Linked DNA regions of Homo sapiens: region 2 is linked to region 1. The links are contacts of gene promoters, found by promoter capture Hi-C in blood cells and fetal thymus (Javierre and others, 2016). All regions are on one chromosome and are shown on one strand. Each heading gives the region's core, a stretch centred on a gene start or on the middle of the fragment in contact. The rest is flanking DNA. Distances are from core to core; before and after follow the strand shown. Region 1 holds the start of CEP70 (centrosomal protein 70). Region 2 overlaps BPESC1 (blepharophimosis, epicanthus inversus and ptosis candidate 1).

The links. Contacts are between HindIII fragments. The CHiCAGO score rates a contact against its expected background, and 5 or more counts as called.
Region 2: a fragment that was not itself captured here is called in contact with the fragment with the promoter of CEP70 in region 1 in 1 of 17 cell types (fetal thymus); the score reaches 7.6 in fetal thymus.

What each region holds. Positions count from the first base shown.
Region 1 is chr3:138,589,889-138,596,954 of GRCh38, reverse strand. It overlaps CEP70 (centrosomal protein 70), which reads left to right and starts at 2,695. Exons shown (of 18, transcript NM_024491.4): 1 at 2,695-2,757; 2 at 4,999-5,101. RefSeq lists an enhancer at 2,431-2,490. The HindIII fragment of the contact is 6,508 bases long and covers 1-3,085 here.
Region 2 is chr3:139,107,896-139,114,374 of GRCh38, reverse strand. It overlaps BPESC1 (blepharophimosis, epicanthus inversus and ptosis candidate 1), which reads right to left. Exons shown (of 3, transcript NR_026783.3): 2 at 5,070-5,163. Among named protein-coding and RNA genes, the nearest start is that of BPESC1, 7.0 kb to the right of the region's middle. The HindIII fragment of the contact is 2,027 bases long and covers 1,938-3,964 here.

The DNA.
Region 1 (7,066 bases), core at 1,446-3,945:
TCACAGCTACTCGGGAGGCTGAGGCAGGAGAATGGCGTGAACTGGGGGGTGGAGCTTGCAGTGAGCCACGATCACGCCACTGCACTATAGCCTGGGCAAGAGCGAGACTCCCGTCTCAAAAAAAAAAAAAAGAAGTTGAGAAATAAAAGATGTGTTTTAACTGCTAATGAAAGTTATAATTTATGCTAGGAAGCCAAAGTACAGAGGAAAGCAGAAAGCCGAAATGAAGACATGCTTGGCTTTCAACTTAAGTGTCACTTCATCAGAGAGGCTTCCTCCATAGCCCCTCTTCTCTTCTTTGATATCACTTATTATATTAATAATATATACTTAATTGCATTTGTTTCATATTTTCTCCGCAGTTAGACTATAAGATCCACGAAGGCAGGAATCACAACTGGGCTTACTTACTATTGTAAACTCCCCCACTTATAAATCTGACTCAGCATCTAGTTCAATCCCTGGTACAAAACAGGTGCTTAACAAAAAAATTTTTTTTTTTTTGAGACGGAGTTTTGCTCTTGTTGCCCAGGCTAGAGTGCAATGGTGAGATCTCGGCTCACCGCAACCTCCGCCTCCCGGGTTCAAGCGATTCTCCTGCCTCAGCCTCCTAAGTAGCTGGGATTACAGGCATGTGCCACCACACCCGGCCAATTTTGTATTTTTAGTAGAGATGGGGTTTCCCCATGTTGGCTAGGCTGTTGTCGAACTCCTGACCTCAGGTGATCCACCTACCTTGGCCTCCCAAAGTGCTGGGATTACAGGCGTGAGCCACTGTGCCCGGCCAACACATTTTTATAAATGAATGAATGTTAAATGAATGTTTAGAATTATTAGAATTCTATTGGGTAGATGAGGCCCATAGAAAACTCTTGAGACCAATGTAGCAGGATTCTCAGTGAAAGACTAAGTTTGTGTGCAGGGATGTTTTCCTTCTCTAGCAAAGAGAGGTGCTGGAAAGGCTTTCATGGTCCATAAGAAGGGAATTGTTTTGGAGGGCAGTGCTATAGCAACTCTTCCCCTCCATTCACCACATAAAAAATTCAGTTAGAAAATAGAGAGGAATCAGCCTTCTTGTGCTTTGAAGACTGTGAAAGATACTGGTGATCATCCATCTAGCATCCATTTTCCTCTTCTCCTTTACAGGTCTCCAGTTTTATTCAAATAGCCATGTCTCCACCTTGCAACTCATGTGACTCAAAGAGCACTGACACCATTGCCAATTCCAATTGTCATAGCTCCTTTTCACTTCTGGAACCCAGGCTTAAGCTGTCTGTACATTTCCCAGGCAGTTACTGGTAAAGAGGAAGAGTGTGTGCCTGTGTGAACTTATTGGCTCAAAAAACCAGAAGGAAAGGTTTTAGATGAAAAAGAAAGTATGTGGTCCTGATTTCTCCAAGTAGACATCTGGAAAATCACGTTAGTATGAATTTGAAGTCTACCCTTTTTTTTTTTTACAACAAAGCAGAGACTAATAGCAACTGGGTCCTTGTTAACTTGCTTAGCCACTGAATTAATCAAAGTCTCCCTTGCCTCTGAGCTTTCTGTTATGCGAGATAAGCAACTTCTTTATTTTTTAGGAAGACAGTTTAACTCAGATTCTATATCACGTGCATCCAAAATAATAATAACTGACTCAAAGATGTTTGGCCTCTACAATTAGGGCAGCCATTCTCAGAAGAGTATGCAAGGGCACCCTATTATCTTGGAAAAGGGAAGCACTGAGACTATTTGCATTTTGAGAACTGAAAATGCAATCTGCTAACCGTCGTTAGAGTGAATATCCAGGTATGGAAAGCACAGTGGGTAGGCGTAGGTTGGGGTAGGGACATGTTTGCATGGGGCAAACACAGAGATCAAACCTAAGTGTAGTCCCAGCTGCCTGGAAGAAGGCTAAGAAGGGTCTGAAAGTATTGAGCTCCAAGAGCCCTTGGATCTCCTGATGAGAGACCCTTGGCTGATGCCCTAGATGGGACATCCCTGTTGGCTACTGTGGGACCTGCATCATTTGACTGCAACACAGTCTGTTGCAACATTTGACTGTAACACAGACCTACATCATTTGACTGATTTGAAAAGACAAGTTGTCAACAGCGACACCATGTGGCTATAAGATACAATGACAATGGTGGACAGCTACAGCCTCAGGTAGGGCCTGACGCTTCGTCGAGATGTGGAAAATGCTGAATGGGAAGATGAACTGTCGTCAACAAATATTTATTGGGGTCCTCCAAATGTCAGCTGCTACAGTGGTCATTCAGGTCTGGAACATCGAGAACATGCTGACCCGTACCCCAGCAAGGGCTCGTAGTCGCGGCGGGGTAGGGGGCGAGAGAGAGGGCAGTCTCTGGTGGCCAGGTAACCCAGGCTTCACTTTCACCCACGGCCACAAGTATTTCTGACGTCTTCCGGGCAAATAAGCCTCCATGTAAGTGACAGGGCACCCAAGGAGTGCGTTGGAAGCGCCAGCGTGCCCGAGACCAGCACATCGCACCGACGCCTTCGTTTGCGGTAAGCCCCGCCCCCCGTAGTGAGCCAACCGGAGGGAGCGGGGCGGACCCAGCTTCCCGGAGAGGCTGGAGAGAATCGTTTGGGGGCATTCGCAGGCCAAAGAGGGGCTGGCCCTCGACGCGCTCGGGCTCGATTGGCCGCCCTCCCCCGGCGGTGGTAACGGTCGCGGAGGCGGGGCCTGACGTAGCTGATCCCAGCCTAACCTGGCCCGGCTGGCTGCTGGTGGGAGGCCGGCGACTGAGTAAGGTGAGTGGCTCTCGGGGCTCTCAGAGGCGTCGGCGTGAGCCCCTTCCCGGAGTACCCCGGACTTGACCTCACCTGGGCCTAAAAGTGGTCAGACTGACCCTTGTCGGGGAGGAGCCATCTGGGACAGGGTCGCGCCAATTAAAAATCCCTGCGTAAGGGTTTGGGGATCGGACAAAACTGCCTCCAGTCCCAGCTCCCCAGGCTTTGTGTTCTTTGGCTTCTCCTTTAATGTCTCAGCGCCTCCGATTCTTTATTTGTATACTAAAGCTGGTAATTCTTGCCTTACAAGGTGGTTGTGAGGGTTAAATGAGGCAGTAAGAGTAAAGCTTAGAATCACGTCGGGCACAGACTCGATTTAAGCTGTAGGTAATTACTCCATCCCCCAAAATCGACCCGGGCTGAAGCGCTAGTTTTGTGTCAAACAACCGCGAAGGTTGTTTGGGGAGTGAGGACTCGGAGCAGAAGGGGGCGGTTAGGCGAATAGCACAGGTGAGTATCTCTTTCTCCAGTTTATTAACCTCATTCCGGATTCAGGAGACCTCTGACTTTATACAGGGCCTAATAGGAGTTTTTCAAGGTGAAAAATGCCAGAAGGCTAAGTCACCTGTAACAGAGAGACCAATCAGAGTTTCCTTTTTTACTGCCACTTTGTTTTTCAATCAATGATATTAAACAGGCAGGGCGCAGTGGCTTACGCCTGTAATCTCAGCACTTTGGGAGGCCGAGGTGGGCGGATCCCCTGAGGTCAGGAGTTCGAGACCACCCTGGCCAACATGATGAAACCACGTCTCTACTAAAAATACAAAAATTAGCTGGGCATGGTGGTGTGCGCCTGTAATCCCAGCTACTCGGGCGGGTGAGGCAGCAGAATCGCTTGAACTCGGGAGGCGGAGGTTGCTGTGAGCCGAGATCGCGCCACTGCACTCCAGCCTGGGTGACGGAGCGAGACTCTGTCTCAAAAATATATGTATAATATATTAAACTCTGTGCAGGCATTACCCATATTGGTTTCAAGCCTCTGCATGAGTTTTGTACTTTAAATATTGCCAAGTAGACTCTGGCCTCCCCTGCCCCGCCTTTTGGGGAAGAGGTGGCTGACTTGGAGTTTTCCCTACAGCTTTTGCTTCAAAGCAAGGTTCTGCCCCTTCATGTCACCTCTCCTGAGACAGAATGATTTGGTTGAGATGACATTCCATTTTAACTCTTTCCTATTTGGGGTAAGTTCAGCTCTTTCTTAGGAACATTAAACAGCAAGTTGCAATATTTTTAGAATAGAGCTTTTGCATTTAATAAGGAATAGAGACTTCGAAAGGGTTACATGTTCATTTATTGCAGTAATTTGAAGTATATACTTTTGAAGATGCTTACAGATTTTGGTGTGATTCAGTTGAGAAGGAACAGTTATTGGCCATGGTTTATTGTCAGCTCCCCTCCCCCACCCCAAATGGTGAAAAAAATAATTAAATTTTAAGATATGGAGCATGTTACAAGGGGCTTCAGACCTATAAAGGGCAATTTGGCTGAAAGACTCGGGAAACCTAGAAAGTGCCAGAAGATGCAATTATGTTTTTGCTTTTCTATGCTTGGCTTACTATGCCATGTACAAATCAACTCCTACCCTCCGACTCCTACCCCCCGACTCCTACCCCCAACAATCTTATTTTAAGTGTGTTATGACAGTAATTAAAGCTGTAGCTTCTGTTTTGGCCCTAGAAAGCATTTGGTCTCTTCCTGTGACTTTAAAGTTCCAGACCTTTGTCCTGTCACAGCCTGTAGTGGGGAAAAGGCTGCTGCAAACTATTGGCCCGTTTATTTCACAGAATGGTCCTCTGAAAAGGAGGGCTTGGTCACAGGTGCAAATGAGGAGTAGTTTTGTTCCTGTGTTTGCTTTTGTGATCAGTGGTAGTTTGTCTGAGGATGCTTCATTTTAGTATCCTTGCAAATGAGAATATCCTACCTGTGGAGCCAGAAGTCAGAATTGATGATAGATGATGATAGATTTGGATACCCAGCTAAATGTCTTAACAAGGTAGGGAGAGGAAAGATAAGAAGGAGAGAGAAGAGAAGGGAAGAGGCATATGATGGTGAGCTGGGAAGGCCATTAGCAGTTATTTCAGTTGTGCCTGCTTTATCTGTGATTACCAGTACCTTGGATGCCTGCTCTGGGAGTAACACAAGACCATTCTTACTAGGAGGTTGAACATTTCAAGATTTTGTTCTTTTTATCTTTTTGAAACCTAGATGAAGATCCAGTTTCAGACATGAGACTCGTTGGGTGATCATTTCATTGAGATCAACCTGAATGACCAGGTGTAAAGTGCAAGAGTAATATGCTATGACTGAGGTATGTCTAATGTAACGGATGACTCCAGATGTTGGGAGGCCATGGAAAAAAATCTAATATTTATTGAGTACTATACTAGGTTCATTACATATATTTCCTTTTGACTTCCTGATAATCCTATCAGGTAGATATTTTACAACTCAGCAAAGAAGCTGAAGCTCAGAGAGGTTAAATACCTACTTAAGATAACACAGAAAGCTGATCACCAACTCTAATCACAGTCTCCATCCTGCTGTGTGCCAGACAATGCTTTATGTTCTTTCTATATTAACTCTTCTAATCTTTAACTCGTGAGCTGAGTACTTTTATTATCCTTATTTTATGATGAGGAAATTGAAGCACACAGAGATTAGTACTGTACTCTCCTGGCTGTGTGGCAGAATCCATGATTTGAACCCAGGCAGTCTGGCTACAGAGCTCTGCAGGTTGAGTATCCCTTACCTGCAATGCTTGGAACTATGTTTTGGACTTTTAGATTAAAAAAAAAATTGGAATATTTGTATATACATGAGGTATCTTGTTTAGAGTTGGGTAACTCTAAACACAAAATTCATTTATTGTTTCATATACAGCTTATACACACAGCCTGAAGCTAATTTTATACATTTTTAATAGTTTTATGCATGAAATGAAGTTGTGACTGTGACCTGTCACATAAGGTCAGGTGTGGAATTTTCTACTTGTGGTGTCAAGTTGGTGCTCAAAAAGTTTTGGATTTTGGAGCATTTTGGATTTCAAATATTCATATTAGGAACGTTCAACCCGTACCAGCTTTATTTTGGTTAGGTTAGCATTTCCTTTACTTTTCTATTTTTTGTTATTTAACAAAATCTTTTTAGCGTAAAATGAAATTTTTGTTATAAATCACATACCAAATGTATAGCTTAATAAATTATTACAGGACCATACCATTCAGGTATGCCAGATCCCCTCCATTACCCTATCCCAGTCAAAACTCCTGTGTTCCCATTTAGTCACCATTCTTCTGGGTTTTATAGTTTTGTAGTAATCACTTCCCTGTTTTTTTTTTATTATTTATTTATGAGATAGAGTCTCATTCTGTTGTCCAGGCTGGAGTGCAGTGGCACGATCTCAGCTGTCTGCAACCTCTGTCTCCTGGGTTCAAGTGATTCTCCTGCCTCAGCCTCCTAAGTAGCTGGGATTATAGGCACACACCACCAGGATCGGCTATTTTTTTTTTTTTTTTAGTATTTTTAGTAGAAACGGGGTATCACCATGTTGGCCAAGCTGCACTGTGAGCCTGGCCTCCTAGTTTTTGATAGCTTCCTTGTTATATAATATATTGAACAATTCCTATCGCAGATATGAAATCAGCCATTTCTTTAAAATGCCCGGGTTTCATTTAGAGGGAAATAATATTTCAGTTACAGTCTGAATGCTAAAGATCCTGAGTTAGTCACTGTTTCAGGCATTTCAGTAGACAGAGCTAGGATACCTGTATCTGTCTATAGACACACATGTTAAAAGATACCTAATGTATTCTACTTCCAGTCTTCAGATTGAGATTACAGAGCTTTTACTTAACAACTTCTCTATCACAACTGTAACTCCTTTTTTCCATACTGAGAATCATGATTCTCAAGAATATAGGAGAAAATAGAATATTCCATATTTACTCATTATTCTGTATTATACATATGACAGTATCAGAACTATATTTCTGAAATCACCATCAATATGATTACTGAAAACATTAAACCTTTTTTTTTTGGCTTATGTTCTTCTCATTTTTTCTTCTCTCTCTGTTTTAACAGTTATGCTCTATCTGCATTGTCAGAGTATATAGCCATTTCATGTTCTGCTTTTTCCCTCTTAGCCTATTAGTTCTATTAATATATTTAATGTTTACCACCAGTGTTTATGCTGAGGTCTCTCTAGGCATTTTGGCTACCTGAAGCTAATACATTGTTAGATTCCTCGGGAAGTAATATTGTCTGAGTTCTT
Region 2 (6,479 bases), core at 1,702-4,201, 520 kb before region 1:
ATAAATTTCATATATAATATATAATTTGTATATATTATATAATTTGTTTATGCCAGTGTCACCACAGACACACAAGTAATGCATTGTGCTTCGACATTATGATGGCTACAGCATCACTAGGCAATAGGAATCTTTCACCTCCGTTATAATCTTATGGGACCAGCATCCTATATGCAGTCCACCATTGACTGAAACATCATTACGCAGCACATCACTGTGTGTGACACACACACACACACACACACACACATTCTATTGACGCTATTGTTCTGGAGAGCCCTAATACAATTTCTCTCCCTGTTCTGGATTCTACCTTGGCCACCCTTTCCTAAGGTGCATGGGTGCATAAACACACACAGATGATACCCACCCAGAAGTAAACTTTAGGTCTTTATTCACCCACAGACACCTGTGGTAAGTCCAGATGATACATACAGTTGGAAATGGGTACAAGGTCCTGGACAAGGTGACCTCATGCCAGTCCTCCCTCAGACTAATTTACAGATGGCAGCCTCCCTGACGGCAGGCAGGTGGGGTAAGTGCTCTGCCACCTACTGAGTGCATATTCTTGGACATGCAACTTGACTTCTCTGAGCCTTAGCTTTTTCTTCTGGAAAATGGGGATAATAATACTATATGTGTCACTGGATTATTAGAAGAATGAAAGGAGATAGAGTGCCTAACGCAGCTCATCGCTACTCCCAACAGGACAGTTCCAGTAATTCAATGTTATTCCCTCTTATGGTACACACCCATGTCCACACTGTCCAATCTATAAACAAAAAGACTGTTAAACAGGGCTTACGGTTCGCTTCACAGAGGCCTCAGGAGAAGTCTCCATGCTTGCTTTTAAATCAACTCTTTGTTCCCACACAGACTGACCACCGTTATCTCCTTTGACTCTCACTGCATCATGCAGTAGCAGGTGGCTAACCCCATGCACCAGGAAGGAAAGTGAAGCACAGGCACAGCCCATGACACACTTTGTGTGAGATGAGCTGGAACCTGCAGCTCCTGGCTCCAACTCCTAAGAACTCCTCTACTCAGCAGGGCTCTGCAGGTTCCCACTGGGTCCACTTGTGCAGAAGGGATTGTGAGGCCGCCCATGCCAGAGGCAGCTCCCTGCACCCTCAGGAAAGGCTTCCTTACCTCTAACCCAGACCTTCCTGGTCTGCTCAGCCTGCTTCTTTGGACTTAACTGGAGCTGCCACCCTTAACCACATCTATTCCATGTCTCTGTTCTTGTATTCTCCCAAATATCCAGAGCCCAGTTTCTTTCCTTTCTTCTCTCTTAAGATTTATTCTCCAAGCTTCAGCCTTACAAATCTGCCCTAGCCAGAATCTTCTGGGGACACAATAAAAACACAAACAGTTCTTCACTTGAGGCTTTCTCTTGGCAACCATGTGTAAAGACTCCCAAACAACAGATAAAATAAGTTAATCTGGTATTTAGGACATTGTCTGAACATGGAACTGGACCAACTGGAGAGGCAGGGTGTGTCCAGAAGGACACAGGCAGGGTGTGTCCAGAAGGTGGTCAAGAACCTGCCTTCTACTCTTCTCTCTGCTACTACCCAGGTGGGCTTGGGCAACTCATTTTGCCTATTTGTGCTTCAATGTCTCCAGTTATGAAATAAATGAGTGAGTTGGATAGAGTTGGATAATTTCTAACGTCCTAAATATCTAGGATTCTCTGACATACTGGTTCATCCTCATATATAAGTTATCACTTACATAAGGAAGAAATCTATATCATGGGTGTTACTCTTGTCCCAAGCCTCTGGCAGACATCACTGGTTGACAACAGCATTCTTTCCTTCTAAGACAGACCCAGCCTCAGAAGCTTTCTCTACAGAGCACTCCAGTAGCTACTACCAATCAACCAGTACAAATAAATACAACTATTTGTATTAGAAACATTCAAGACCCTAAAAGCTTGTCCTCATCAGGATCCTCCAATACTGCCCCACCCAGGTGTGGGGCCTGCTGGGGCTCTGCAGTGTCTCTGAGGCTGGATTTCAGGACTCACTCGTCTCCCACAGATGTCTGGACCATCAGGCAAGCTGGACCTGTCCTGGTCACTCCATAACTCCCTGGCATCTGGTGCCCACAACCCAGGACCCACAGAAGCCTTGGAAGATGTCTCAGAAGCAGAAACTTCTGTCCTAAGGAAAAATTCCAGAGAAGTGGAGGCACAAAGTGTGGGCCAGGGCATTGCCAGACCCACCCCAGGGCTGCCCAACACACACACGCACACCACACCCACGCTCTCTGTCCAGCTCAGGTATTCACGCGTGCACACACACACACACCCGGAGAAGAGCTCCGGGGTGAAAACGTCCTGCAACAGTGCCATCTAGTGGGAGCCGGGGTCTGTCCTGCCCTCACAGGTTTCCTCCGCGAGCCCCAGGGAGATGGTCTTAAGATCCAGAGATGTGAAAGTTGTGGCTGCTTCTTGTGAAGAAAAATACAAAATAAGCAATAACGGGAGACTCTGTCTACCTTGGGATGTCTCACTGCCCCCCTCAATTCGCACCTGTACACAAGGCTAACTGGCCCAACCACCACCATCCCTCTATCTACAACACATCCCCAAATCCCTGCTCTCTGCCTTCAGCCCTGTGAAATTCTGGCCCCCTGGGGTCCTGCTACAGCCCCTTCTACCCCAGCATATGGTCTCTGACTCAGTCACACATTTCCAGGAAACATGGGGAGGACTCTAGCCAGATTCTAGCTCAGCTATTCCCCAGTTTTGTAGTTTCCTACATCCGAACCTCAGTTTACTCTTCTGTGAAATGGGAGAATGTCTTTGTGACTAGGTTGCTGTGAAGATTAAACAGCCTTTTCCAGAAGGTCTCTGGCTGTGATGCCTGAAAAATCCCAGCAGCACCAAGGAGGTTCACAGCTCTAAGATGGTCAGGAAGGCTATTTGCTAGAGGCCAGGATAGTTCTCAACCCTACAGGGGATGGAAAACCCAGACAGTCCCTCTCCCTCAACACTGGGAACTCTGCCCCATCCCTCTTACATGGGTGGGGTAAGACCACATCCTTTTAAATAATTAAATACAACATAGGATCCCAAGCAGGAGAACCCCTCCTTGCCTTTTAGAGACTATGGGAAGATCTGTCAGAGCTTAATGCTTTCAGGCTGGGCGCAGTGGCTCACACCTGTAATCCCAGCACTTTGGAAGGCCAAGGCAGGAGGATCACTTTGAGCTCAGGAGCTTGAGACCAGCCTGGGCAACATGGCAAAACCTCATCTCTACAAAAAAAATTCAAGCTGGGCATGGTGATGCACACCTGTATTTCCAGCTACTTAGGAGGGTGAGGTGGGAGAATCACTTGAGCCCAGGAAGTGGAGGTTGCAGTGAGTTGAGATCGTGCCACTGCACTCCAGCCTGGGTGACAGAGTGAGATCCTATCTCAAAAAAAAAAAAGGAAAAAAAGAACTTAATGCTTTCAGGTTCAAATGTTTCCAGCCAGTGTAACAGAGCAGAAATACTATCACTGATCATGGCAGAGGACTTTAAGAGGAGGAAGAGCATTACTAATCCCTCCTCAGCAAAGGAGACTTTTCCCAGGGGTCTGGGAGACTAGCTGTACACAGAGGGCTTCTGTAAGGAAGCCAAGGGACAAGGAGGCCCTGGAAGCCAGGAGGCTGCTGTGGCTGAACAGGAGGAGATGGAACAGTGTTGCTGATTCTGCAGCCTGAGGATGATGACACCCCAGGCTCCAGAATACAGTGTCCAGCCACGCTGCCTGCTTGCAGAGGAAATGAAACCCTGCCCATTCTTCATACCTGTAGGAAGGGGAAGAAGCCTTAGGTGGTGCTCCTAAATGGCCTGTGTTGCTAGGGAAGGACCGCTGGATACTGAAGCAACCACGTCCAAACTCAACTTCAACGCTCATTCATTCGCTGCATGGGTGGGGGCCCAGAACACAAGCAGCTTCTCAAAAGGAAGCTTCGTGGCTAGGCAAAAGCTGAAAGACACCTCCTGAAAGTGAAAACGTAACCAGCAAATCTAATAAAGTCGGCCCCAGTGAGAAACCTGCAAAGCAACCAAGATGACATGAACAGCAACAGCCAGGCCCTTCCTGCGCCGGGGGCAGGTGCCAACAGCATCAAAGTCCTGTGGGCCAAGGGCCAAGAGCATCAGAATCTGGCAGAAGAGACAATTCCTCTCTAGACTTGGCAGATCCAGTCTCCCAGTGTGAACCTGCCTTTTGGCCTGAGAGCCAGCAGCCCCAGCCTACAGATACAGTGTCCTTGCCTCTACCTGAACTTAATTCAAACCATTCTGCTCAACCCTAATTTGGAGCTTTTATTAGGTTTTAAGTTACACTATATATGGCACAATAGAAATATTTTTTCAGTGTTAAATTGGAAACATACCACAAGAGGATTTTTTAAAGCCTTTTACAACATTGTAGACTGAAATGTCTTCAACTCTCCAACCAAAATCTAACCAAGGTAACCTTCACAGGAAAAACTTTGATATCAAGAGAGGTATGTATCCTCTGGAATGTGCTTTTCTTCCTCTTTTCCAAAAGCAGTCAACAATATTCCTCTAATCAGTCTGCGGTGTGTTAGCATTGAAAGTAGGCATACTCTGGGGGTATTCCCAGGAGAAATAATGGCAGATATAGGCAGAATAAAATCACCATGCCCCCTGGCCTTTCAAATGAACATGTCCATCACCACCATCTGTCATATAAAGTGAGGCCTGGAGAGCAGGTCGTGCTCCGAATGGATCAGGCTAGGGTTCCTTGCTTGCCTCACACTTGAAGCACTCTGTACAGGAGACCATTTCCGTGGCAAGAGAGGGGCTAGAGACCAGGACACAGATGGTCTAAGCTCCAGGTGGCCCAGAAGTGCTTATGCTAAGAAATGCTTGGGCTGCCCCGCTAAGAGCAGCTCCTCCACCTAGCACTCCTCACACTCTTAGATGAGGAGCTCCGGGAGCTCATTTGCATCCTGGCTGTAGCCCTGCTGAACATCATAAGGACAGCCTGTTGAAGGACACAGACTCAGGCATATGACCTGGCACATGGCAGAGTCCAATACCTACCTTTGACATTTTGGACCCAACTTGGAATTTTTGAATGATTATAGTTGTCTTTTGAAGAAAATCAAGGCAATGAATAAGCGGCAGCTGATAAATGCTGGGAGAAAGAAACATGACAATCATGAGAATATGCCTATATTTGACCCATACAGAGCAAACTAATTTCCTTTAATTATACCAAGAAACCCTGAACTCTAAAGCCAGAGCATCACTCTCCAAGGTTGCTCTTCACCCCTGTGATCTGACCCTTTTCTCAAGGGCAGAGCAGCTGGCCAACTTGATGCCACTGATACCACAATAGAGGCACTGCAAGCACAGGTCCAGGAGGACAAATGGCCCCTCTGGAGAACTGGGACAGGGTGGGTTCATTCCTCAGTGCACTGGGTAGGATGGGGCTGTGTTTGCTACCAACCCCATAAGCCAACTGGTCAAGTGACAAATGCTGAACAGAATAAAAACAATCTGGCCCCTCCAAGCACGGGGCCTGAGGTTGCACAGGCACCTCTGAGAGGTCCCATTTGAGGATGTGCCCAGCCCACAGCTCTGCCCATGACCCCTCTAATCCTGGGGCTTCCCATATGCCACAGTCAGCACTGGGTCTGGTCCCTGCTCACTGCTGTGGGTATGGATCTTGGTGCTGTGGGAGGCTCCTGTGGGGCTATGGAAACTACACCCTCATGGAATGGCAAGGGATGTGCACAAGCCATGGGCCCGAATGCTGTATCATTTGGACACACATTCCAGGAGGAATTCCAAGCAGAAAAAGGCTTTGGGCTGGGAAAGGCATAAAGAGCTCCCAGAAAGACAGGCCTAGAGTTGGGCCTTGACTGATGGGCAGAAAAGGGAACGTATTTAAGGCAAATGGTATCCGGCCACTGCTAAGACATGGAGATGGGGATGACACAGTGTGTTCAGCAACAGCCACTGTGGGACAAGGCTTGCCCTTGGAGAGGAGCAGGAATAAGTAAAATTTCATCCTCCCAACTTCACTCCCTGGTGTGTCTCCATCACTGAGAGTCCCTTGAGGGTTATCTTCAGATCTAAATGCCACCTGGCAGAGAGAGCAGGCTGGGCTGCTGGAGGAGTGCTGAACCTCCCCTCCTGGCCCAGGCTGAAGGCTTTCACAGCGACTGAAGACTTGGGAGAAGCCGGCTAGTCCCACTGCCCTCTCCCCCACAATCTCGGGTGGCTGCTTCTCCCATTGATAACTCCCTGAGATCAGGTTCGCTCTGCCCTGCTTCCAGACGTAGGGGTCAGAGTGAGCCCTGGGCCTTGGGCACAGCCCCCAGATGCTGAGCAGGTTGAAACCAGACTGGGGCCCAGCCCCCTGCCTGCCCTCGGCCTTGGGAATATCACTGCCCAGGATGGAAACCCAGGGAGCCCCACTGCATTAGAAGGCGGGGGATGGAGCAG